7 separate regions of the Homo sapiens genome follow, and all the other regions are linked to region 5. Evidence: promoter capture Hi-C in human tissues and cell types (Jung and others, 2019). All regions are on one chromosome and are shown on one strand. The core of a region is centred on a gene start or on the middle of the fragment in contact, and the rest is flanking DNA. Distances in the headings are between cores, read along the strand shown.

The links. Contacts are between HindIII fragments. The study calls those that stand out against the background at their distance.
Region 1: a fragment that was not itself captured here is called in contact with the fragment with the promoter of P2RX4 in region 5 in 4 of the 25 tissues and cell types used here (H1 embryonic stem cells, dorsolateral prefrontal cortex, spleen and 1 more).
Region 2: the fragment with the promoter of SPPL3 here is called in contact with the fragment with the promoter of P2RX4 in region 5 in 2 of the 25 tissues and cell types used here (hippocampus and liver).
Region 3: a contact is called between a fragment that was not itself captured here and the fragment with the promoter of P2RX4 in region 5, in 2 of the 25 tissues and cell types used here (dorsolateral prefrontal cortex and mesenchymal stem cells).
Region 4: a fragment that was not itself captured here is called in contact with the fragment with the promoter of P2RX4 in region 5 in 2 of the 25 tissues and cell types used here (aorta and hippocampus).
Region 6: a fragment that was not itself captured here is called in contact with the fragment with the promoter of P2RX4 in region 5 in 2 of the 25 tissues and cell types used here (heart left ventricle and lymphoblastoid cells).
Region 7: a contact is called between a fragment that was not itself captured here and the fragment with the promoter of P2RX4 in region 5, in 5 of the 25 tissues and cell types used here (IMR-90 fibroblasts, lymphoblastoid cells, mesenchymal stem cells and 2 more).

Annotation. Positions count from the first base shown.
Region 1 is chr12:121,474,835-121,477,876 of GRCh38, forward strand. The region is part of intron 12 of KDM2B (lysine demethylase 2B); the gene reads right to left. Among named protein-coding and RNA genes, the nearest start is that of MIR7107, 32 kb to the left of the region's middle. RefSeq lists an enhancer at 1,362-2,189. The HindIII fragment of the contact is 8,981 bases long and covers 1-3,042 here.
Region 2 is chr12:120,902,681-120,905,898 of GRCh38, forward strand. SPPL3 (signal peptide peptidase like 3) reads right to left here and starts at 1,678. Exons shown (of 11, transcript NM_139015.5): 1 at 1,165-1,678. The coding sequence starts at 1,187. XLOC_009911 (a long non-coding RNA gene) reads left to right here and starts at 2,015. Exons shown (of 2, transcript NR_131215.1): 1 at 2,015-2,092. RefSeq lists silencers at 1,028-1,077, 1,218-1,437, 1,518-1,877. The HindIII fragment of the contact is 15,749 bases long and covers 1-3,218 here.
Region 3 is chr12:120,835,156-120,838,270 of GRCh38, forward strand. All of the region lies in intron 1 of SPPL3 (signal peptide peptidase like 3), which reads right to left. Among named protein-coding and RNA genes, the nearest start is that of SPPL3, 68 kb to the right of the region's middle. The HindIII fragment of the contact is 7,575 bases long and covers 1-3,115 here.
Region 4 is chr12:120,786,577-120,789,642 of GRCh38, forward strand. All of the region lies in intron 3 of SPPL3 (signal peptide peptidase like 3), which reads right to left. Among named protein-coding and RNA genes, the nearest start is that of ACADS, 62 kb to the left of the region's middle. The HindIII fragment of the contact is 5,083 bases long and covers 1-3,066 here.
Region 5 is chr12:121,208,867-121,212,024 of GRCh38, forward strand. It overlaps P2RX4 (purinergic receptor P2X 4), which reads left to right and starts at 1,263. Exons shown (of 12, transcript NM_002560.3): 1 at 1,263-1,432. The coding sequence starts at 1,299. It overlaps LOC105370032 (a long non-coding RNA gene), which reads right to left and starts at 1,206. Exons shown (of 4, transcript XR_001749352.3): 1 at 983-1,206. RefSeq lists a silencer at 969-1,708 and an enhancer at 2,039-2,088. The HindIII fragment of the contact is 10,060 bases long and covers 1-3,158 here.
Region 6 is chr12:120,933,373-120,936,584 of GRCh38, forward strand. No RefSeq gene overlaps it. Among named protein-coding and RNA genes, the nearest start is that of XLOC_009911, 30 kb to the left of the region's middle. The HindIII fragment of the contact is 5,842 bases long and covers 1-3,212 here.
Region 7 is chr12:120,852,044-120,855,581 of GRCh38, forward strand. All of the region lies in intron 1 of SPPL3 (signal peptide peptidase like 3), which reads right to left. Among named protein-coding and RNA genes, the nearest start is that of SPPL3, 51 kb to the right of the region's middle. The HindIII fragment of the contact is 8,131 bases long and covers 1-3,538 here.

The sequences.
Region 1 (3,042 bases), core at 540-3,039, 270 kb after region 5:
CCAGCACCTGGGGAGGCCGAGGAAGGAGGATCTCTTGAGCCTGGGAGTTTGAGGCTGCATTGAGCCATGATCATGCCACTCACTGCTCTCCAGCCTGGGAGACAGAGCGAGACTCTGTCTCAAACAAACAGAAAACCAAAAATACCTACCATAGTGTTACAGTTGCCTACAGTATTCATACAGTAGCATGCTGTACAAGTTTGCAGCCCAGGAGCAACAGGCTTTACCATACAGCCCAGGTGTGTAGAGGGCTATATCATCTAGGTTTGTATAAGGACATTCTATGACGAAATTGCCTAATGATGCATTCTTCAGAATGTATCCCTGTCATTAAACTACACATGACTCTGTGTGTGTGTGTGTGTGTGTGTGTGTGTGTGTGTGTGTGTGTGTATTTCATCAGACATGTCTTCCCTAGGTTAGCTAATCTGGTCAAAAATGGACACACAAAAAAACTATACCAAAACTTGGAGGCCAGGTGTGGAAGCTCATACCCGTAATGCCAACACTTTGGGAGGCTGAAGCAGGAGGATCACTTGAGCCCAGAGAGCTTGAGACCAGCCTGGGCAACACACTGAGACCCTGTCTTTACAAAAAATAGAAGAAAATTTAGCCAGGCAAGGTGGCATGCACTTTTAAGTCCCAGCTACTCAAGAGGCTGAGGTGTGAGGATCATTTGAGCCCAACAGGTTGCGGCTGCAGTGAGCCAAGATTGTGACTGCACTCAGTCACCCTGGGTGACAGACAGGGACTCTGTCTCAAAAAACAAAACAAAAAAAACAGGCACAGTGGCTCATGACTGTAATCCTAGGACTTTGAGAGGCTAAGGCAGGAGGATTGCTTGAGCCCAAGAGTTTGAGACCAGCCTGGGCAACATGGCAAGACCCCATCTATAAAAAAAAATTTTTTTTAGAAAGAAAATCTTGGAGATGAGGAGAAGACTAACCCCCCTGCCCCACAACCCCCACGTCTTTGAATAGATGTTATTTTCTCTCCAAGAGTTGGGGCATCTCCCTATGGCTCTATCATCACTCAAGAGAGATTTTAGGCCAGGGGCAGTGGCTCACACCTGTTATCCCAACACTTTGGGAGGGCAAGGTAGGAGGATTACTTGAGTCCAGGAGTTTGAGACCAGCCTGAGCAATAGAGTGAGACTCTGTGTCCAAAAAAAAAAAAAATGCCCGGCACGGTGGCTCACGCTTGTAATCCCAGCACTTTGGGAGGCCAAGGCGGGCAGATCACCTGAGGTCAGGAGTTCAAGACCAGCCTGGCCAACATGGTGAAACCCTGTCTCTACTAAAAATACAAAAATTAGCTGGGTATGGTGGCAGGCACCTGTAATCCCAGCTACTCGGGAGGCTGAGGCAGGAGAGTCACTCAAACCCGGGAGGCGGAGGTTGCAGTGAGCCAAGATTGTGCCATTACACTCCAGCCTGAAGGACGAGGGCGAGACTTCGCCTCAAAAAAAAAAAAATTAGCCGAGCATGGTAGTATGCCTGTAGTCCCAGCTATTTGGGAGGCTGAAGTGGGAGTACTGTTTGAGCTCAGGAGTCCCAGGCTGCAGTGAGCTATGATCACGCCACTGCACTCCACCCTGGGTGACCGAACAAGACAAGCGGCATCCAACAGGTAGTTTTTTGTTTTTTGTTTTTAAAAAAAAAAAACCCTGTCTCTTAAAAATAAAATTAAAAAGAGTGACTTTAGGTCCTATTCCTGAAAGGTAACACGGTTAGAAACTATAGGCCCTAAACCCCGGGATGTGTTAAAACTAACTGAAACAAAGAGATAGTTCAATCACCTCTTAAATGAGCTGCTAACAGTCACTGTGGGGGTCTGATGGGCTCCGATGACACTTTAATTCCAATACATATGGCTTTTCTCTCCCTCCTTCCTTCCCTCCCTCCTCCCTTTCCCTGGCTGCTGCCATGGGCCTCTCTCTTCAGTTACCATTCTTGTTCTTCATTTCATGGATTTTCATAGATCCATCAAGACACTCAAAATAGAAAAAGCCTGACAAAATCTATTGTCACCATTTGAAATAGCCATTAACCAACTCCTTACTTTGAAAATCAGCATTTAAAGGGCAAGAAGTGAAGCCCTCACACTGCTGGCTCAGGAGGAACTGTTTTTAGGGGTAGCCCCAGTTGACAAGGAAAAGCTCTGCCAAACATCGCCAGCTAATTCACACGGAATGACATTCTTCAAAGATCATTTTTCATCTCCTGATGAAACAATTTTTTTAATTTGAATCTTGTAGAGACGGAGTCTCACTCTGTCACCCAGGCTGGAGTGCAGTGGTGCCAATGATAGCTGACTGCAGATTCTAACTCCAGGCCTCAAGCAATCCCCCCATCTCATCCAACTAGCTGGGACTACAGGCACAAAGCCACCACACCAGGCTAATTTTTTTTATTTTTTGTGGAGGCATGGTCTCACCTTGGCTTCTAAAAATGGTACCTTCTAAAAAGGTATTGTAAAAATACCTTTCATTACAGGTATGAGCTACCATACCTGGCCTGGCCCCAGTTATTTTTATATATGTATGTATATATGTATTTATTTTTTTAAGAGACAAAGTCTACTCTGTCACCTACGCTGGAGTGCAGTGGCACAATCACAGCCCACTACACCCTCCAACTCCTGAGCTCAAGGGATCCTCCCTCCTTAGCCTCCTGAGGAGCTAGGACTACAGGTGCATGCCACCATGCCCAGCTAATTTTTTTCTTCTTTTCTTTTTGTCTTTCCTTTTTTTTTTTTTTGGAGATGGAGTTTTGCTCTTGTCACTCAGGCTGGAGTGCGATAGCATGATCTCGGTTCACTGCAACTTCTGCCTCCCGGGTTCAAGCGATTCTTGTGCCTCAGCCTCCAGAGTAGCTGGGATTATAGGTGTCTGCCACCACACCCAGCTAATTTTTATATTGTTAGTAGAGACAAAGTTTCACCATGTTGGCCAGGCTGGTCTCAAACTCTTGACCTCGGGTGATCCACCTGCCTTGGCCTCCCAAAGTGCTAGGATTACAGGTGTGAGCCATCGTGCCCAGG
Region 2 (3,218 bases), core at 428-2,927, 310 kb before region 5:
TATGCTCTTTTCTAAGAAGGGAATGTCTACAGTTCTGTCCCAAACCACATTTGCTTCAAGAGTAAACCATCTTCAAACCATTTCTCTAAATTGCAATCAGGTCCCCCACTCCTACGATCATGCCATTTCTTGCTTCCTCACTCTCCAGCTATGACTTCCTTCTCACTACCCGATTTCCACTCTTCATGGATACTGCCATCATTCCTTCAACCCGTCCTGCAAATATCCCACCTCTACATGCTAAAGGGAGACCCCTCATGTTCCTTCCCCCAAACCCTGGCACTCCCTTCTCCGGATATGTAGGTTGTCACCCCATAAACTACACAGTAGCTTCTCGCTTCTCGGCCCTTAACGAGCTACTTACTAACTTTAAAAGCCCCACAGAAATGAACTTAACTTGCAGGTCCTCCACCTCCACACTTGGCCCTGGGCGCCATTCCTCTGAAAATAATAGTACCAACCCTTACAAAGACTCTGCCCATGCCCCACTGTCACCAACGAATTCCTTTTCCAGAAGGAAAAGGAAACAGGTTCTTCAGGCTCCTCTTCCAACCTCTTCACCAGTGACTCCCCTCCAAGGTTCGTGGACTCTACCCCCGCAGTTTTCCTCCCCTCACTCCCGGGCCTCTGCCCACCTCACCAACTCTCCCTGCGCTCCCTGTCCCAGAGCCAAGCGGCGGCCGCTCCACTCTCCCAACTTAGAAGTTCTGCCTCTATCACCTGTTCTCACTAGAGCTTCCTCTCAGCCCAGCGGCCCACCTTTGCCCTGGCCTGCCTCTCTCCACCCCTTCGAGTCCTCCTGCCCAGGAAACACCCCCACGAGTCAGTTCCGGGGTGCCTGTCGGATTCAACTTCCCATCCGTGGGATTCCCACCCCCGGGGTCATGCTCCCCTTCTCCATCACCTGCTCCGCCCATAGCCAGATGACATCCGCCGCTGCCTCCTCCTCCATTCCCCTTCTCGGACGCCAGGTCCCCGGCCACTCACCGCCCTCCGTGCGCGCCAGCCGCCCCCTCCGGTGGGGAAGAGGGGGGCGTGCACCCCAACCCGCGCCCCCCCCCCACGACACGCACCTGTTCTTCCTCCTCTTCCCCTCGGCGGGCCGCGCCGGCGCCCCGACCCCCACCCTTGCCGCCTCCCGGCCTCCCGGAGCCCCGCACTCACCACGAGTAGGTCTGCTCCGCCATGGCGCTGCCTCTCGTGGGCTCCGCTGCAGGCTGTGGCCGGGCCCGGCGGCGGCGGGCTCGCTCGGGCCGTAGCTGAAGGCGCGGCCGGGGTCCGGTGCTTGCTTGCTTGCTCGCTCGCTGGCTCGCTGGCTGCACGGCGGGCCGGGAAGGCGGCTGGCGGGGAGAGGCCGGGCTCCGAAGCGGCCCCGCTCCCTGGGCCCCGGGGCGGGGCGGGCTCCGCTCTCGGCCTCCCTCACCCGCGGCGGCGGCGGCGGCTCCGCTGCAGCTCCAAACCCAACATGGCGGCGGCGGCGGCGCGGAGAACAAGGGGGCCCTGGGGCGGGCGAACGGCAAGACGGGCCCGCGCTCACTGCGCGCGGGGCCGCGGGAGCGCCGCGCTCGGGCGGCGGCGGCGGCGGCCGGGGGACATGGCCGGCGGGCGGAGGCGGCGGCGACTGAGGGGGGCGCTAGGCGATGAGGCGAGGCCACTCGATCACACCCGCCGAGGGGAGGAGGGGCGGGGGCGGGGGCGAGCCTTGGCCCCGCGCGGGTCACGTGCCCAAAACACGCTCACGTGATGCGCGCCCCGCCCCTCGAGCCGGGCCCATGCGCAGAGACGTCGGCTCCTGGGTTCTAGGCGGCTGCTGCTCGCACAGCCAGAGCAGTTGGGCCGCCTCCCGCTGCCTGGTGCCGCCCCCCTCCCCACGCGGAGATGTCGCCTCGGGTACCCTCTTCCGCCCCTCTCCGAGGGGCTGCTGCACCAGCCAATCGGGAACCCCGATGCGCGTCTGTTGGCTGCCACTCAGCTGTCAACCGTCAGTCAACAGTCTGCTGGCCACGGGCCCCCCAACTGTCAGTCAACCTGTCAGTCAACAGGCAGAGGGCTGCATTCCTTCGTTCGTATGTTCCTTGGTTCATTCATTCAGGTAGCAAATATTCCAGGCAGCCAACCTTTATTGCGCCCAGGCCCGGCACCAAGTCGAATACCCCACGCTTGCCTTCACAGAATCAATCAACAGATATTTGTTGGGTGCCAACCATGTGTCAACTCACTCTGCCTTCCTAGAGCTTACATTCTAAAGGAAGAGACATAGTCCAAGCCCACAAATAAGATAATTTCAGATGCTGCTAAGTTTTACAAAAACACATTTTGTAACACAAGGTGAGGGGACAGAGAGTGAGCAGAGGTGTGGGTTACTTTAGATAGGGTGGTCAAGGAAGGCCTCGCTTAGGAGGTGACATTTGAGCTGATATTGAATGATGACAGAGAGCTGGCCTTGCAAAGATCCACAGGAAAAGAGTTCCTGGCAGAGGGAACAGCAAGGGCAGAAGGCTCAGGAAACCGTCCATTTGGAGGTCTGGAAACCGGCACAGAAATAAACACGGTAGAGCTAGACCAGAGACCAACAAAGTGAATCTGGAGCTTAGATGGAGAGAGAAGAGAGAGATTAATTGAGGCCCCAGGTACTGCGGAATGCTTCCCCAGGAGTGGATGAGGCCGTCTGAAAGGGTGAGAGGCTTATCAAAGAAAAGTCATTCTTTTGGCCGGGCGCGGTGGCTCACGCCTGTAGTCCCAGCACTTTGGGAGGCCGAGGTGGGTGGATCATGAGGTCAGGAGATCGGGACCATCCTGGTTAACACGGTGAAACCCTGTCTCTACTAAAAATACAAAAAATTAGCCGGGCGTGGTGGTGGACGCCTGTAATCCCAGCTACTCAGGAGGTTGAGGCAGGAGAATGGCGTGAACCCCGGAGGCAGAGCTTGCAGTGAGCCGAGATTGCGCCACTGCACTCCAGCCTGGGCAACAGCGAGACTCTGTCTCAAAAAAAAAAAAAGAAAAAGAAAAAGAAAAAGAAAAAAAAAAAAGAAAAGGCATTCTAGAAAGAAAGAATGGCATGAAGTAAGGCCCAATTCCTGGTGAGCTTGAATCCGAGAGTGGGATGGGTGATTTGTGCTGGAGTGTTGAGAAAATATACTGAGAAGGTGCACTGAGGCCAGACTTTGAGGGCCCAGCTAAGCCTCCTTGCCAGTTACTGTGTTCATGAATAAAAA
Region 3 (3,115 bases), core at 417-2,916, 370 kb before region 5:
TAACAATATGCTCCACAGATCGACAGTGCATACTAAATGTCTGTAAAATCAGTTATCACTCAGAAAGGAAGGCAGAAGGAAGCTCTTAGCCAAATAACATATAATTCTAAACTCAGAGTGAAAAATTCATTTTATTTTTGAAACCACACCTACCCTTAACCATCCTCATGATTTATGAAATACTCTCTAAGCATGTAGCCCTTGCTAAACAGTAGTTCTTTCGTTATCTCTCCTTCAAGAAATCTAGGCAAGCTTGTTCGTTAGTCATAGATGTTATACATACAGTTATAGATGATCAAGAATTCTGACGATGAAGTCTAAGATCTATCCTCTGACCCACTGTGCTGTCACTCTTACAACAAAACGAAGGAAGCTTAACATTTTATAGTCAGAAAAATCTTGAGAAAATGTTTTACTGGTTTCATTTCCTTGATTGAAAAACTCTTCTCCCTCTTAAAAGATCTCTTCTATGTTGATAGTATCTTGAAAAACAATATCCTTATGCCTTCATGTAAAAAGCTTAATGTAAAGACAGAAATCTGTGTGGTCTCTCCAAGTCGGTATTACAGAATTCTGGCACTACATATACAAGCCCCTGCTATTTTAGGATCACAAGAAACAGCTAGCCTGGGAAAATGAGAGAGAGGTGAACCATTCCTAACATCTTAACAGCCACTTCAAGCAACCACTTGTTCTGCAAATACCACAGGCCCCTTGAGAATCCTTAGATTTGGTTGGTAACTTAAATTCTGGCAACTTCCCTTGCAACAGAACTGTTCTATCTGAAATGGGCATTAGCAACAGAAAACTATGTAACCATATCACATTCTCCTTTGTACTTTTTATGAAATTCAAATGAGTTCACATTTCAAAATTGAAGTAAGGTAGCATTTACAACAAATCCAAGCAGACCCATGTGCCATCATTTCTGTAACTTTGGAGTGTGCACCACATTGTCTGTAAAGCTGGCCACCAAGAATGCCTCTCATCTCTGCATATATCTGCTACTCTTCCCACCAAGAAGGGGAGTCTATTTCCCCTCCCCTTGAATCTGGGCTATCCTTGCAACTTTCTCCAACCAAAAGACGGCTACAGAAAGCAGGCTGTGCCAGTTTTAGGCCTAGATTGAAAAGAGATCTAGCAGGCTCCACTTTTGCTTTCTTGGCACCTGAAGCTGGCATGCAAGGAAGTCCAGGCTCTCCTGTTGGAAAGAGGCCACACAGAGAAAGAAGCCTAGCAGAAGACAACTACATGAGAAAGGTTGTGGGGAGGAGCACTTAGACACCTCAACAAAAAGCCAGTACCAAGGCTCTATGCATGTGAATGAGACCATCCTGATCCTTCAGTGCTGGTAGAGTCCGGCAGACACCACACGGGACAAAGACAAAACCATCCCAACTGAGCCCCTGCCCAAATGCAGATCTGAAGAATCATGAGCAAATATAGCATTTCTGGAAGGACAAAACTTTAAAATGGCAAACAGATTAGTGGCTGCCAGGAGTTAGGGACCGGAGTGAGAATGGAGGGTTAGCACCGGGAAGGTGTGGGATATGCTTACAAAAGGGCAACCCAAGGGATACTTTCAGTGTTAGTTCCATTCACTATCCTGACTGTGGTGGTGCATACAGAAACACAGGCAGGTGGTAAAACTGTACACGCCTTAACATGCACATGTGTGTGTGCATACGTGCATATACGAGTGCAAGTAACCAGGGGTATCTGAATAAGATAAATGGGTTGTATCAATGCCAATATCCTGATTGTGTTGTTAAGAGTTTTACAAAACGCTGCCCATTGGGAGAAACCAGGCAAAGAGCACATGAGCTCTCTGCATTTTTTTTTTGTAACTGCATGTGAATCTATAATTATGTCAATAAAAATTTCAAAATGGTGACATTAAGCTACTAGGTTTTGCGGTAGTCTGTTTTACAGCAATAGATAATAGATAACTGATACAGAGCAGTAACATTTTAATGTAACTTGTTAGCTAAGATTTGTAAGACTAACTGGCTGTATATCTGATGTTAATAAGTACTAGCTATATTATTAATATGGTTTTATTTTTGCCTAGTTTATCTGCATTTGACCAGTTCTCAATCACAAGCAATAATTGTCCCTTCAACTGGCTAGAGAGAAATGTGAAGAGAAAAAAGGCAGATATGAAAAAGGTTAATATTGTCAAAGAGGTACTTTCCTCATATTTTAACAACTCTGAAATTGGAGCGCATTTTATAACTGGCAGCATTTTTTTATTGGTGGCACAAAAATAATGTTAAATCAATAGTCTTCAATTAGCTGAAATACGTGATATTAAAATCTTAGTTCTTCCTGAATCCAAATTGGTATTTAGCTGCATTTGAAGGCATTAAACATTTTTGAATTTTCTATAATGCTTTTTAGCACTGTATTTGTACTTACTCTTTATATCATACAACAACCTTCCATTTATTATCAGAAGGGAATGCGATTCCTGTAAGTCAAACAGATAACTTCAACTACCACAATTTACTAGGCAATTAAAAATACCCACCTAAAAAGGAAAAATAAAAAACTACAATATGGCAGAGACTGCAAATTTCCTTCCAACATTTATTCTCTCCCTTTTTGGTAAAATAATCCTGATTTTTAAAATAATGCATTTCCAACCTTTCCTGCAGCTGTTACATACACACACACACACACATGACTAGTGCCTAAATTCTGACAATATCAAAATGGTATAGTCTCTACTATCCAGGTGTGTTGGTGGGCGACTGTAATCCCAGCTACTGGGAGGCTGAGGCAGGAGAGTCACTTGAACCCAGGAGGCGGAGGTTGCAGTGAGCCAAGATCACACCACTGCACTCCAGCCTAGGCGACTGAGCAAGACTTCGTCTCAAAAAATAAAAAATAAATAAAACTCAGACACAGTGATTATAAACACAGCCCATACTTACTACTTAAAACAAAGGAACTGTCTTAAAGCTATAAAATGCTTTACCAAAACAAGGAAGAATAAAAGGACATAGACACGAAAGGCTAGAAAAAGAAATGGTCTCCTGAGAGATGGGCTATCTGAATTTGGTAGGTTATCAGATACAGGCTCGAGTGCAGTGAATGCATATTTATTTTTTCC
Region 4 (3,066 bases), core at 566-3,065, 420 kb before region 5:
AAAAGTTCAGTCTGCAATTACATGCGAAACTGAATACAAAGGACCTTTCTGGCGTATTAGATAGAATGCACAGATTTTTTTTTTTTTAAACCACAGATTTTTGAACCAGGAGGCGATGTCACAGGGCAAGTAAAGCGCCTTTAGTTCCTGACAATATGCTACCTAAAACAATGTCCATGACTTCAGTACTCCATTTCCTAAAGTTCTGGAGATAAAGGTCTTGAATGGGAAAGAAAGAGGTAATTAATTAGAAATTTTAGCCAAACTCCAGTAACTTAAAAACAAAGCAAAACTGAGCAAAGCAAAACAGACTAGCCATAATTAGGAGGACATATGCAAGTGCAGTTGCATTATCTTTAAGGCAAAAATCAACATAGGAAATAGGCTTGGTAATGGAATTAAAAATTTTGTACAGCAACATCATTTTTAACATTCAATGAACATGGCTACAGGCTAAATGTACGTCTGGTATGGAATAGACACTGAGCAATAAAACCAATAACTATTAAGAAAATTACTGATTTTACACCTCCCTGTAAGAACGATGCTTTTGACTATTTGCTGAACACTTATTATATAGTAAGCAACAGGAGGGATTAAAAGAAAGTCATTTCCAGATCTCATGAAGTTTACAATCTAAGCAAGAAGATTAAGATGTATACCTCTACTAAAGATGAGGATCCCAACTATACATCTCCATCAATCTTTATAACTCAAATAAATTATAACTGAAGTTTAGTAAAAGTCTTTAAGATGTCAGATAATTGGGCAGGGGTGTACATGGCTTTTTAAAATTCCACTTAATACTACTTAAATGAAGGACTGATGTGCCATGGGAAAATAAATTTCTATATTGGCTTCTTGGGGGCAGGCAGAGAAGTTAGAACAAGGTCAGGGGAAATCAGAGGACCTGGAGGGAACTCTTGCCCTCCACCCTCACTCCTGTCACTTTCTAACCTTTTTTATGGTGAAGCATCACACCCAGAAAAGCACAAAAATGAATTATTACATATTTAATACCACTCAAGTCAAGAAACAAACCAACCCCAGAAATCTTCCTTTGTGTCCCTCTCAATCACTACTTTCTCTCTCTCTCTCATTCTCCTGAAGGGAACCGCTATCCTGACTTTTATGACACGTTTTCCACCCAAGCACGCATCCTTAAATACTAGTTTGCCTGTTTCCTAAATTTTATATGCATTGAGTTATGTAGTTATTTTTTTGTGTCTGGCTTCTTTGACTCAATATGATTTGTGAGAATTATCCATGCTGTTTTATGTAGCTACAGCAGTTCACTTGTTTTCACTGTATGAATACAGTAAAATTTATCCATTCTACGGTTGACATTTGGGTTGTTTCCAATTTTTTGGTTATTACAAATGCTGCTGCTCTAGGCACTCTTGCACATGACTTGATGCACATGTGACTGTATTTGCTGGATATATAACTAGGAGTGACACTGCTGGGTCCAAGGGTATTTATACTGTCACCTTTAGTAGGTAAAATGTCAAACTGCCTTCCAAAGTGACTGTGCTAACGCATGCTCTCCAGTAACGCAAGAGGGCTCTTTGCTGTTGCTGTGCATCCTCATCAGCACTGGGAATGGTCAAGGTTTTTAATTTTAGCTATTCTGGTGGTGGGCATGTAGTGCTTTTTCATTACTGTCTTCACTTTTACTTTTCTGCTTTCTAATGAGTTGAGTGCCATAGTTCCTGGCAGGCCTGATCAACTCTTCCTCTTACTTCCATGTGTTTCGAGTTGCCCAGATAGGTGGAACATTATTATAATCTGAAGTAATAATTACCCAGTCTTTTGGTCAAATACCCTAGGGCACCCTGCAGCGAGAAACTTTCAATTACAAACTGATTTCTCCATTTTTAAGTTCTGATTTTTTGGGGCATGAGTCACATGGCCCATCTAACCCTCTGTTGAGTCTCACTTAATGCTTCTCCTTCTCCTAGCTCCTATTATAATCAAGGACAGTCAAATCATTTCTGACATATTCAAAGCATGTAATCGTAAGAGTAACCCTTCACCCACGTACCCCACCAATGATGCTGGCTACACCTACAACTTCTCCTGCTCTCCTATCTCTTTACAAATTCCTTGTTTCTTATTATTTTGGGAGTGGGCAGCTACAATCTTTTAAAAACTTCTGATTACTGTCTCCTTCAATCAGTCTGAAACACTCCTGACAAAATCTTAACACTAAATTTATACTTTCTTTTTCTCAAAACCTTCTCCCCAGTTGTTCCACATTGTTAATCATCCAGGACTTCCATCTCCTTAGCACCTACACCTCTCTGTTTCTCTGTTCATCTTTCTGGCTATTATTTCTTTGATTCTTGATAAATTCATCCTGTTTTCCATGTCATCCTTTCAATCTGTAATAATTTTATATTCCATAATCAAGTACTGGTCGGCCGTCTTTGTAATGGCTTCTTCATTATGTTCTTCTTTGAGGAAGTGAATTTTGCAGTCTATGCTAATCTGTCCTTATCCTATTGGCATCCACTGCTCAGAGCAGGCACTGAAGAAATGTTGTCAAGGATAATTTAGTACAACATAGCTGGCAGAGTTAAGAAAGACCATTTAGGTTGGGTGCAGTGGCTCATGCCTATAATCCCAGCACTTTGGGAGGCCAACACTGGAGGATCACTTGAGGTCAGGAGTTCAAGACCAGCCAGGGCAACATGGTGAAACCCCATCTCTACTAAAAATACAAAAATTAGCCAGGTGTGGTGGTGGGTGCCTGTAATCCCAGCTACTCGGGAGGCAGAGGCAGGAGAATCACTTGAACCCGGGAGGCGGAGGATGCAGTCAGCAGAGACTGCACCTCTGCACTCCAGCCTGGGTGACAGTGAGACTCTGTCTCAAAAAAAAAAAGAAAAAAAGCATTTAAAAAAGAAGTATTCTACCACTCTTTAGACTGTGCTTCATGAACAAAAAATAAAAAAGCTTATGTTGGCTGGGTGCAGTGGCTCATGCCTATAATCCCAGCACTTTGGAAGGCCGAAGTGGATGGATCACTTGAGATCAGGAGTTTGAGACCAGCCTGGCCAACAC
Region 5 (3,158 bases), core at 13-2,512:
GTGGCGGGCACTTGTAATCCCAGCTACTCAAGAGGCTGAGGCAGGAGAATTGCTTGAACCTGGGAGGCGGAGGTTACAGTGAGCCGAGATCGCGCCACTGCACTCCAGACTGGACAAGAGTGAAACTCCGTCTCAAAAAAAAAAAGAAAAAGAAAAAGAAAAAACGTATCTGAAGGGAATGAACAAATACACATGCGGAAAATTGTATTCATGGGGTAGAACGGTGGCTGTTTCCCCCCCTTTCACTATTTTCTCTCCTAAAGTTGTGATAGCATTTTCTCAGTGGAAAGGATGACCACAGAATTATCTCCCCTGGGCTGCAACTAAGGAAGTATTTGGAGTGAGAATGCGACCAGGCTTCAAATCCAGGAGGGGTATTTTACAGGGCGTGTGGCTCTCACCCAGGGCTCACAGGACACCTGATATTTAGGCTGTTCCCCAAGAGGCTAAGGACAGCGCGGCCCCAGCTCCCCCAACCACAGCTGCCCAAGTTTAGGAGCCCGCACTCGTGAGCGATGGCTACTCCGCACAGCCCCGGGGTCCTCTACGGAAATCCCTGGCACCTATCAGTACCCCTAAGGGAGGTCGCTCGTTACCCCTCACTTGAACTCTGTCCCAAATGGGAGGTCACTCTCTCTTCGCGGACCCCATCTTCCCCGAAAGGGTCTCTTGTTCTCTCTGGCCCTCCTGAGAAGGTCATTACTCCCCAACTCGCCTTTTTTGTTGTTTTTTGGTTTCTGGTTTATTGAGGCAGGGTCTCGCTTCATCTCCCAGACTGGAGTGCAGTGGCGCGATCACAGCTCACACGGCAGCCTCTACCTCCTGGGCTCAAGCGATCCTCTCACCTCAGCCTCCCTGGGACTACAGGCGAGCGCCACTACGCCCGCTTTTTTTTTTTTTTTTTTTTTTTTTTTGTATTTTTGATAGAGACGAGGTCTCGCTATGTTGTCCAGGCTGGTCTCTAACTCAAGATTCCTCTCACCTCGGCCTCCGCAAGTGCTGGGATGACAGGTGTGAGCCACCGCCCCCGGCCCCTCGCCCGCCTTTTGAAGGAGCCTTTCGTCCTCAAGGGCGAGGCCACTCCCCCCCCGCGAGTTCCATGCCCCCTAGAGGGTCATCGTTCCCGACGGGGAGGTGGCGCCCTCCCCCGGGCCCCGGGCCCCGACCGCCCGTGCTGCCTCCTTCCGGGCCCTCCTCCGCGATGACGGCGCCGCCAGCAGGCCAGGCGGACTGGGCGGGGCTCCGAGCGGGGACTGGGACCCAGACCGACTAGGGGACTGGGAGCGGGCGGCGCGGCCATGGCGGGCTGCTGCGCCGCGCTGGCGGCCTTCCTGTTCGAGTACGACACGCCGCGCATCGTGCTCATCCGCAGCCGCAAAGTGGGGCTCATGAACCGCGCCGTGCAACTGCTCATCCTGGCCTACGTCATCGGGTGAGCGTGGGGCCGCGCGGGGGGCGCGGCGGGTGCTGCCCTCGCGTCCGCGCCGTGCGGCGGCTCATCCTGGCCTCGGTCACCTGGGCGAGTCCGGGAGCGGCGAGCCGAGGCGGTGACACCTTCCCTGGGCCCCAGCCGCCGCGCCGGGGCCCCGGGGGCGGGAGGCTGCTTGCTGCTGTTTTAAAACCACAGCCTGGGCCAGGCGCGGTGGCGCAAGCCTGTAATCCGAGCACTTTGGGAGCCCGAGGCGGGACCATCGCCTGAGCCCAGGAGTTCGAAACCAATTTGGGCAACATCGTGGGACCCCGTCTCTGCAAAAAATTAAAAATCATCCGGGCCTGGTGGCGCGCGCCTGGGGTCCCAGCTACTCAGGAGGCTGAGGTGGGAGGATCGCTTGAGCCCAAGAGGCTGAGGCTGCAGTGAGCTATGATCACACCACTTAACTCGAGCCTGGGAGACAGTCCGAGACCCGTCTGTTTACAAAATAAATAAAGGCAAAGCCTGGCTAGGCTGTTACCCTCTCCTGCCTGACCCCCCATAGTGCCCCTTGGCTGTAGGGGCTTCGCCCTGAACGTCTCAATCTTCGCTCTCCACTTCCCATCCTGCTGATTTGCTGACAAAACCAAAGCTTGGAATTTCCGCTTGGTTCCTTCTGGGTGGGTGGCTTTTGGTCATTTCTTTTGATCACTATGCGGTGTCACTATGTGGTAGTAGCGAGGTCAGACTGTAGCGAGTGTTTAAAGTTTGCTTCCTTTGTTTTCTGGGCTTGTGGGGCTTTTTGTGGTACCTGCCCTAGCCTAGTCAGTCATTCCCCATGCTGCCCCCTTAGGCTAGAGATGCCCTACCGCCCTCAGGCCTCGCTGAATGTGCCATTGTACTTGAAGGCACCTGTTACTTTTTTAATTTTTTTATTTTTTTGAGACGGAATTTCTCTCTTGTCGCCCGGGCTGGAGTGCAATGGCACGATCTCGGCTCACTGCAACCTCTGCCTCCCGGGTTCAAGCAATTCTCCTGTCTCAGTCTCCTGAGTGGCTGGGATTACAAGTGCCCGCCACCACGCCCGGCCAATTTTTGTATTTTTTAGTAGAGACGGGGTTTCAGGCTGGTCCTGAACTGACCTCAGGTGATCCGCCCACCTCAGCCTCCCAAAATGCTGGGATTACAGGCGTGAGCCCCCACGCGGGGCTGGCACCTGTTACAATTGAATACAACGCGAGAGAGAAGATGATAATTACCTTGCCACCTGGGGCCACTTTAAAGGCTTACCTGGGGTGTTCTGGTGTCTACAGCTGCTGGGCTGACACGTATTGCCTAGTGCAGTGGTCTCCAAACTGCACATTGGAACCATCTGGAAATCTTTGGCTCCCATCCCCAGACCCTTTTTTATTTTTTTGATGGAGTCTCCCTCTGTCGCCCAGGCTGGAGTGCAGTGGTGCAATCTTGGCTCGCTGCAACCTCCACCTCCCTGGTTCAAGCGATTCTCCTGCCTCAGCCTCCTGAGTAGCTGGGATTACAGGCACCCACCACCATGCCCGGCTAATTTTTGTATTTTTAGTAGGGACAGGGTTTCGCCATGTTGGCCAGGCTGGTCTCGAACTCCTGGCCTCAGGTGATCCACCCGCCGCAGCCTCCCAGAGTGCTGGGATTACAGGCGTGAGCCACCGCGCCCAGACGCATCCCCAGACCTTCTGATTTAATTGCTGCAGAGTATGATCGGCTGCCC
Region 6 (3,212 bases), core at 105-2,604, 280 kb before region 5:
CTGCATGGCCTTTGCGTTCTGTGAGTGGCTCACACTGGGGAGCTGGTGACACCCTGACATGGGCTCCATACTTGCTGCTCCTTCTGCTTTTCTTCCAGTGGCACACTTGAGGGATGCAGGGACTCACATAGGACCAATTCCTGCCCCACTGTGTCCCCTAAGTAACCCACATCCAAAATATATCCCGAATTCAGCCATTTTCCTTCTTAGGTCAATTCATTCCTTCTCTCTCTCTCTTTCTCTCTCTCTCCTCTGTCAGAGAGACAGGGTCTTGCTCTGTCACCCAGGCTGGAGTGCAGTGATGTGGTACAATCATAGCTCACTGCAGCCTTGAATTTCTGAGCTCAAGCAATCCTCTTGCCTCAGCCTCCCAACTAGTTGAACTACAGGCATGTGCCACTGCATCCAGCCAAGTTTTTTTTGTTTTTGTTTTTAGTAGAGACAAAGTCTCGTCATGTTGCCCAGGCTGGTCTCAAACCCCTGGGGTCAAGCAATCCTCCTGCCTTGGCCTCCCAAAGTGCTGGGATTACAGGCTTGAGCCATGGCGCTGCCACCGCCTACTCCTCCTCCTCCTCCTCCTCTTCCTCTTCTTCTTCCTCTTCTTTTTTTTTTTTTTTGAGTTGTACAAGAAAATGAGAGGCCAAAGGCCCGTGATTTACAGGCAGCCTGGTGGAGGAGAAGTGGTGTGTAGTGCTGTTACATGGTCTCTAGGGCCATATACTCCGGTTTGAGTTTCTAGTTCTTTGACTATATGACTGTGGCTAAGCAATGAAGCTTTCTAGACCTGCGTTCTCATTCATTAAATAGGAATGATAACACCTCATAAGTATCTAAATGAGATACTGTAGGTAAGTGTACATCATAGAATTTTAAATCTGGTAAGTGTGTGGTAGGCTGAATAATAACCCCTAAAAGATGTCCAGGTCCTGCCGGGAGCAGGCTCACACCTGTAATCCCAGCACTTTGGGAAGCCAAGGTGGCGGGATCACCTGAGGTTGGGAGTTCAAGACCAGCCTGACCAACATGGAGAAACCCCCTCTCTACTAAAAATACAAAATCAGCTGGCCGTGGTGGCACATGCCTGTAATCCCAGCTACTCAGGAAGCTGAGGCAGGAGAATTTCTTGAACCCGTGAGGTGGAGGTTGCGTTGAGCCAAGATCGCGCCATTGCACTCCAGCCTGCGCAACAAGAGCAAAACTCTGTCTCAAAAAAAAAAAAAAGATGTCCATGTCCTAATCTCTAGAACTCTAGAACCTATGATTATAGGAAAGGAGACTTTGTAGATGCATCAAATTAATATTTTTGAGATGAGGAGATTATCCTGGATTATCTAGCCCAATATAATCACACAGGTCCTTGGAAGAGGTGGGCACACCAGAGTGAGCGGTAGCAGATTTGACGATGGAAACAAGAGGTTGTAGTGATCGATGAAGGGAATGTGAGCCAAGGAATGCAGGTGGTCCTCTAGAAGATGAAAAAGGCAAGGACACATTCTTCCCTCAGAGCCCTCACAGGGAACTAGCCCTATAAAACCGATGTCAGATTCATGACCTCCGCAACTATGAGAATAAGCTTGTGTAAAGTCAATATTTGTGGTAATTTCTACAGCAGCAGTAGGAAACTAATATAGGATGTTACTCACATTTATTCATTTGTTTACTTATTTATGAGACAAAGTCTCGCTCTGTTCAGGCTGGAGTGCGGTGGTGTGATCTCGGCTCACTGCAACCTCCGCTTCTCAGGTTCAAGTGATTCTTCTGCCTCAGCCTCCCAAGTAGCTGGGATTACAAGTGTGCACCACTACAGCTGGCTCATTTTTATATTTTTAGTAGAGATGGGGTTTCACTATGTTGGCCAGGCTGGTCTTGAACTCTTGGTCTCAAGTGATCTGCCTGCCTCAGCCTCCCAAAGTGCCAGGATTACAGGCATGAGCCACCGTGCCCAGCCTCTTCTTCTTTTCTTCTTCCTTCTCCTCCTCCTTTTTTGATTGAGATATAGTTCACAAACTATAAAATTCACCCTTTTAAAGTGTGCAATTCAGTGGTTTTTAGTGTAGCTATCAACTTGCCCAACCACTTTCATAATCTACTTCCAAACCATTTTTATCTTCCCCAAAGAAACCCCACACCCATTCACCGTCATTCCCCATTCTCTCACCACCCCCAACCTCAAGCCCTTGTCAACATCTAATCTAATTTCTATCTCTATGGAGATGCCTATTCTGGACATTGCATATAAATGGAATCATACGATTTACAGTCTTCTGTGTCTGGCTTCTTTCACTCTGCAGAATGTTTTCAAGGTTCATCCATGTTGCAGTGTGTCAGTACTGCATTCCTCTTTTTTTTTTTTTTTTTTTTTTTTTTTTTTGAGACAGACTCTTGCTCTGTTGCCCAGGCTGGAGTGCAGTGGCACGATCTCAGCTCACTGCAACCTCCGCCTCCTAGGCTTAAGCAATTCTCATGCTTCAGCCTCCCGAGTAGCTGGGATTACAGGCCTGTGCCACCACACCCGGCTAATGTTTGTATTTTTAGTAGAGATGAGATTTTACCAGGTTGGCCAGGCTGATCTTGAACTCCTGGCCTCAAGTGATCCACCCACATTGGCCTCCCAAAGTGCTGGGATTACAGGCATGAGCCACTGTGCCCAGCTGCATTGCTTGTTATGGTCAGAATGATTCTATTGTACAGATAGGCCACATTCTGTTCCCTCGGTGGATGGACATTTGGGTTGTTTCCACTTTTGAACTACTATAAAGCTGCTATGAGCTTTCATATATAAGTTTTTGTGTGAACATGGTTACTGCTTGCCTGGATGAGACCGTTAACCTCCTCACTGGACTCTCAGCCTCTGCCCTTAACCCACACAGGGTCCATCCTCCTCACAGCAGCCAGAGGAGTCCTTTGAAAGTCAGGTCATGTCATTCCTGTGTTCTAAACCACCAGTGGCTCCCCAGTGCCCTGAGGATAAAGTTGAAGACCCAGCACAATCTCCACCCCAGCTCCAGCCCCACTTCTTCTTCACTGGCTGGCTCTCAGTTCCTCAAATGAGCAATCCTCCTTCCTGCCTCCCTCCCTCTGCAAGTGCCGGCCTTCTGCTTGGAATGCTTCTCCGGCTCCTTATTCCCTTCTGCCTTTAACTCCTCTTCATCCTTCAGGTCTCCAGGGAAAATCAGGGTTCAGGGAGGCCTTCTTTCTCTCTCTCTCTCTCT
Region 7 (3,538 bases), core at 961-3,460, 360 kb before region 5:
TATGATATCTAACAGATGTCATTGTGTTTCACTGAAGGTTAAAAATACTCTGTGATACCCACGAGTTTGAACCTGCAGGCCTGCGCTCCTCACATTACTGCTTGTACACTCCTGCTCTGACGAAAGTGTGCTCTCTGTTATGCAAAGTGCATAGCTGAAGCTCCATATAATGGGCTCAGACAAATAATTTAGGAAACTCCCAGTTTGTCATCGCACATAGTTACATGCCAATTTGACATTTTCTATTAAAGATATATATCTTTATTATATTTATATAATCATATATATTAATTTATATATACATATTTTACATATATGAAATATATGTATATATAATATACATATTTTACATATATGAAATATATGCATATATAATATACATATTTTACATATGAAATATATGTATATATAATATACATATTTTACATATATGAAATATATGCATATATAATATACATATTTTACATATATGAAATATATGCATATATAATATACATATTTTACATATATGAAATATATGCATATATAATATACATATTTTACATATATGAAATATATGCATATATAATATACATATTTTACATATATGAAATATATGCATATATAATATACATATTTTACATATATGAAATATATGCATATATAATATACATATTTTACATATATGAAATATATTTTATATATAATATACATATAATATATTTCATATATTATATCTATGTATATTATATATAAAATATATTTCATATATCATATATACATATATGAAATATATATTTCATATAATATATACATATGATATATGAAATACATATTTCATATAATATATACATATCATATATATTTCATATATATATATATATTTTTTAAGATGGATTTTCACTCTTGTCGCCCAGGCTGGAGTGCAGTGGTGCATTCTCGGCTTACTGCAACCTCCACCTCTTGGGTTCAAGCGATTCTCCTGCCTCAGCCTCCCGAGTAGCTGGGATTACAGGCACCCGCCACCATGCCTGGCTAATTTTTTTGTATTTTTAGTGGAGACAGGGTTTGACTGTGTTGGCCAGGCTGGTCTTGAACTCCTGACCTCAGGTGATCCGCCCGCCTCAGCCTCCCAAAGTGCTGGGATTACAGGCATGAGCCACTACGCCCGGCCTAAAGATATATTCTTTACCATCATCTTATCTGCTCATCCACTTTTTTTCCTAAGGCAAGCAAATGAAGGAAAATGTATATGGTAAATATTTGATTTCTAAGTCTACAGAACTATATTATATTACATCTACAAGCAGAGAATTCCTGTTAGACAAATAAAGTACACTGACATTTTTATCTGCCCAAAGGAATTGCACTTACTCATTCAAATGTCACATGGACAAACATCTGACACCAAACGTAAAATTTTTTCCTTAGTAACTTCTAAAAATGTACACAATAGTAGCAAAACAAGAAGCTGTAACAAACCATAGTATTCCTAATTCTTTTGATATAAATTTTAGACTAAGAAGAAGATATGATGCACACCAAAGCACATGGAAAGGAAGTTTCAGCATTTGTTCAAAATGATTAAATTCATGGATCTTCTAGACCAGTGATTCTCAAAGCTGATGGTGTATCCAAATCACCTGGAGGACTTGTTAAAACACAGATCGCTGTACCTACCCCAGAGTTTCTGGTTCAGCAGATCTGGGGCAGAGCCAAGCATTCATAAATTTCTAAAAAGTTCCCAGGCAATACAGATGCTACTACTAGTCCAAAGACCATACCTTAAAAATCAGTTTTAGATAAAATTCACATTTTCATAGCAATTCAGAAAAACTACTGAATATATTATGAAAGCAAGTGAGATGAATTTGTATTTGGAATAGCAAAAAACAACAACAAAACCCAAACCCAAAACCACATGAAAACAAACACCACCACCACCACACACACGCACACATACACACACACACACACACACACACACACACACACACACACACGGGGAAAAAAAAGGCCAGAGGGAGAAGAAAACCCCACAGTGACAGTCAGTTCCCCAAACAGGATAAACCTAGCTACTCAAACTGAATTACTCATGACTGTGCAAGTTATCAATGTACCCTTTACTGACGGCTCTTCAAGGAGTAAATGTAAGAACACATGTGGCAGCCTCCTGTGAGGTGGGCAGAGGAAACTGACCCAAGGAAATCAGAAAAGCCAAGGGTTTACCATGAAGCACCTAAAAAATTCTCCACATTCAGTGGGAGGTAAACATGGTCCACCCCTAAAACAATTTTAGAATGCTCAAGAAACTGTTTTGGTGATAAGTGTTGAATTATATGTATCTATATACATACTCTAGTAGTCTGATGCTAAGTAAATCTAGTCTTGCCAACATACAATGGAGAAGTAAGCAAGCCAACAGCACAGGTCTTTTTTCTTTTTAAGTCATGGCAGCTATGTGCTGTGTGACCACCTTCCTTTTGCAACAGCTACACCTATAAATCACTAAAACAATAATTGATGAACAAGAGCCTGAGGTGCTATCAAAGCCAAATACATGTTAAATTATATATTCTGTATATTTTATTAAGGCAAGAAACCATTTTAATAATACTAAAAAGATTTTCAAAAAGACTCAAGCAAAAATGACTGTCAATTGGGTCTAAAATTCAGTCAGCCTGAATGCCCCAAAGTCTAAGGAAGCATCATGAAGTTACAAACCTTTCCAAAGGTCAACAAGAAGAAGCTAACTTCCTATTATTCCTACTCCTTTTAAATAACAGTCATTACCAAGTGTTTCCAAAGCGGGGCATTTGTTTTGTTATAATCAAAACCTGCTCAACTGAGGAAAAACAGTGCAATGAAAATATTCTTATATTTATGACATTCAAGATCACTATTTGGACCAAAGAACACGCCAGGATTTTTATAGCACCTGCATGTAACTGTTTCATGATGACCCTCCACAAGGGGCAGGGAAGGGACAGGGAAGGAAGAAGCATGCAGGGCTTTCCTGACCCTACTTCTAGTGTGTAGGAAAGAGGAGAGGGAACTCATTATCCCTCCAGCCACCGTTTCTTCTCCTTGTATGGATGGATCACTAGACCCCACAGAGTGCAAGAATGACGAGAGAAGGGGACTATCAGTGATTAATCCTTGTACTAATAACTTATAAAGTACATCCCCTCAGTATAACAGATTCCATATAGCACAAAAAATGAACAGAAATAATAGTTTCCTGGCATTTTCCAACTACCCAATTAGAAACTGACAAATGTATAAAAAACAATTTTTGTCAAGTAAATCATAGGCCCTGGCTATTTAGCACTATGACCTCAAAGCTTAATTTTCAAATAAAATGACTGGTCTCAAGAAAAACAGGCCAGGCGCTGTGGCTCAGGCCTGTAATCCTAGCACTTTGGGAGGCCGAGGCAGGCAGGTCACATGAGGTCACGAGTTCAAGACCAGCCTGGCCAACATGGTGAAACCCCGTATCTACTAAAATACAAAAACTGGCCAGGCATGACGGCAGTTGCCTGTAATCCCAGCTACTTGG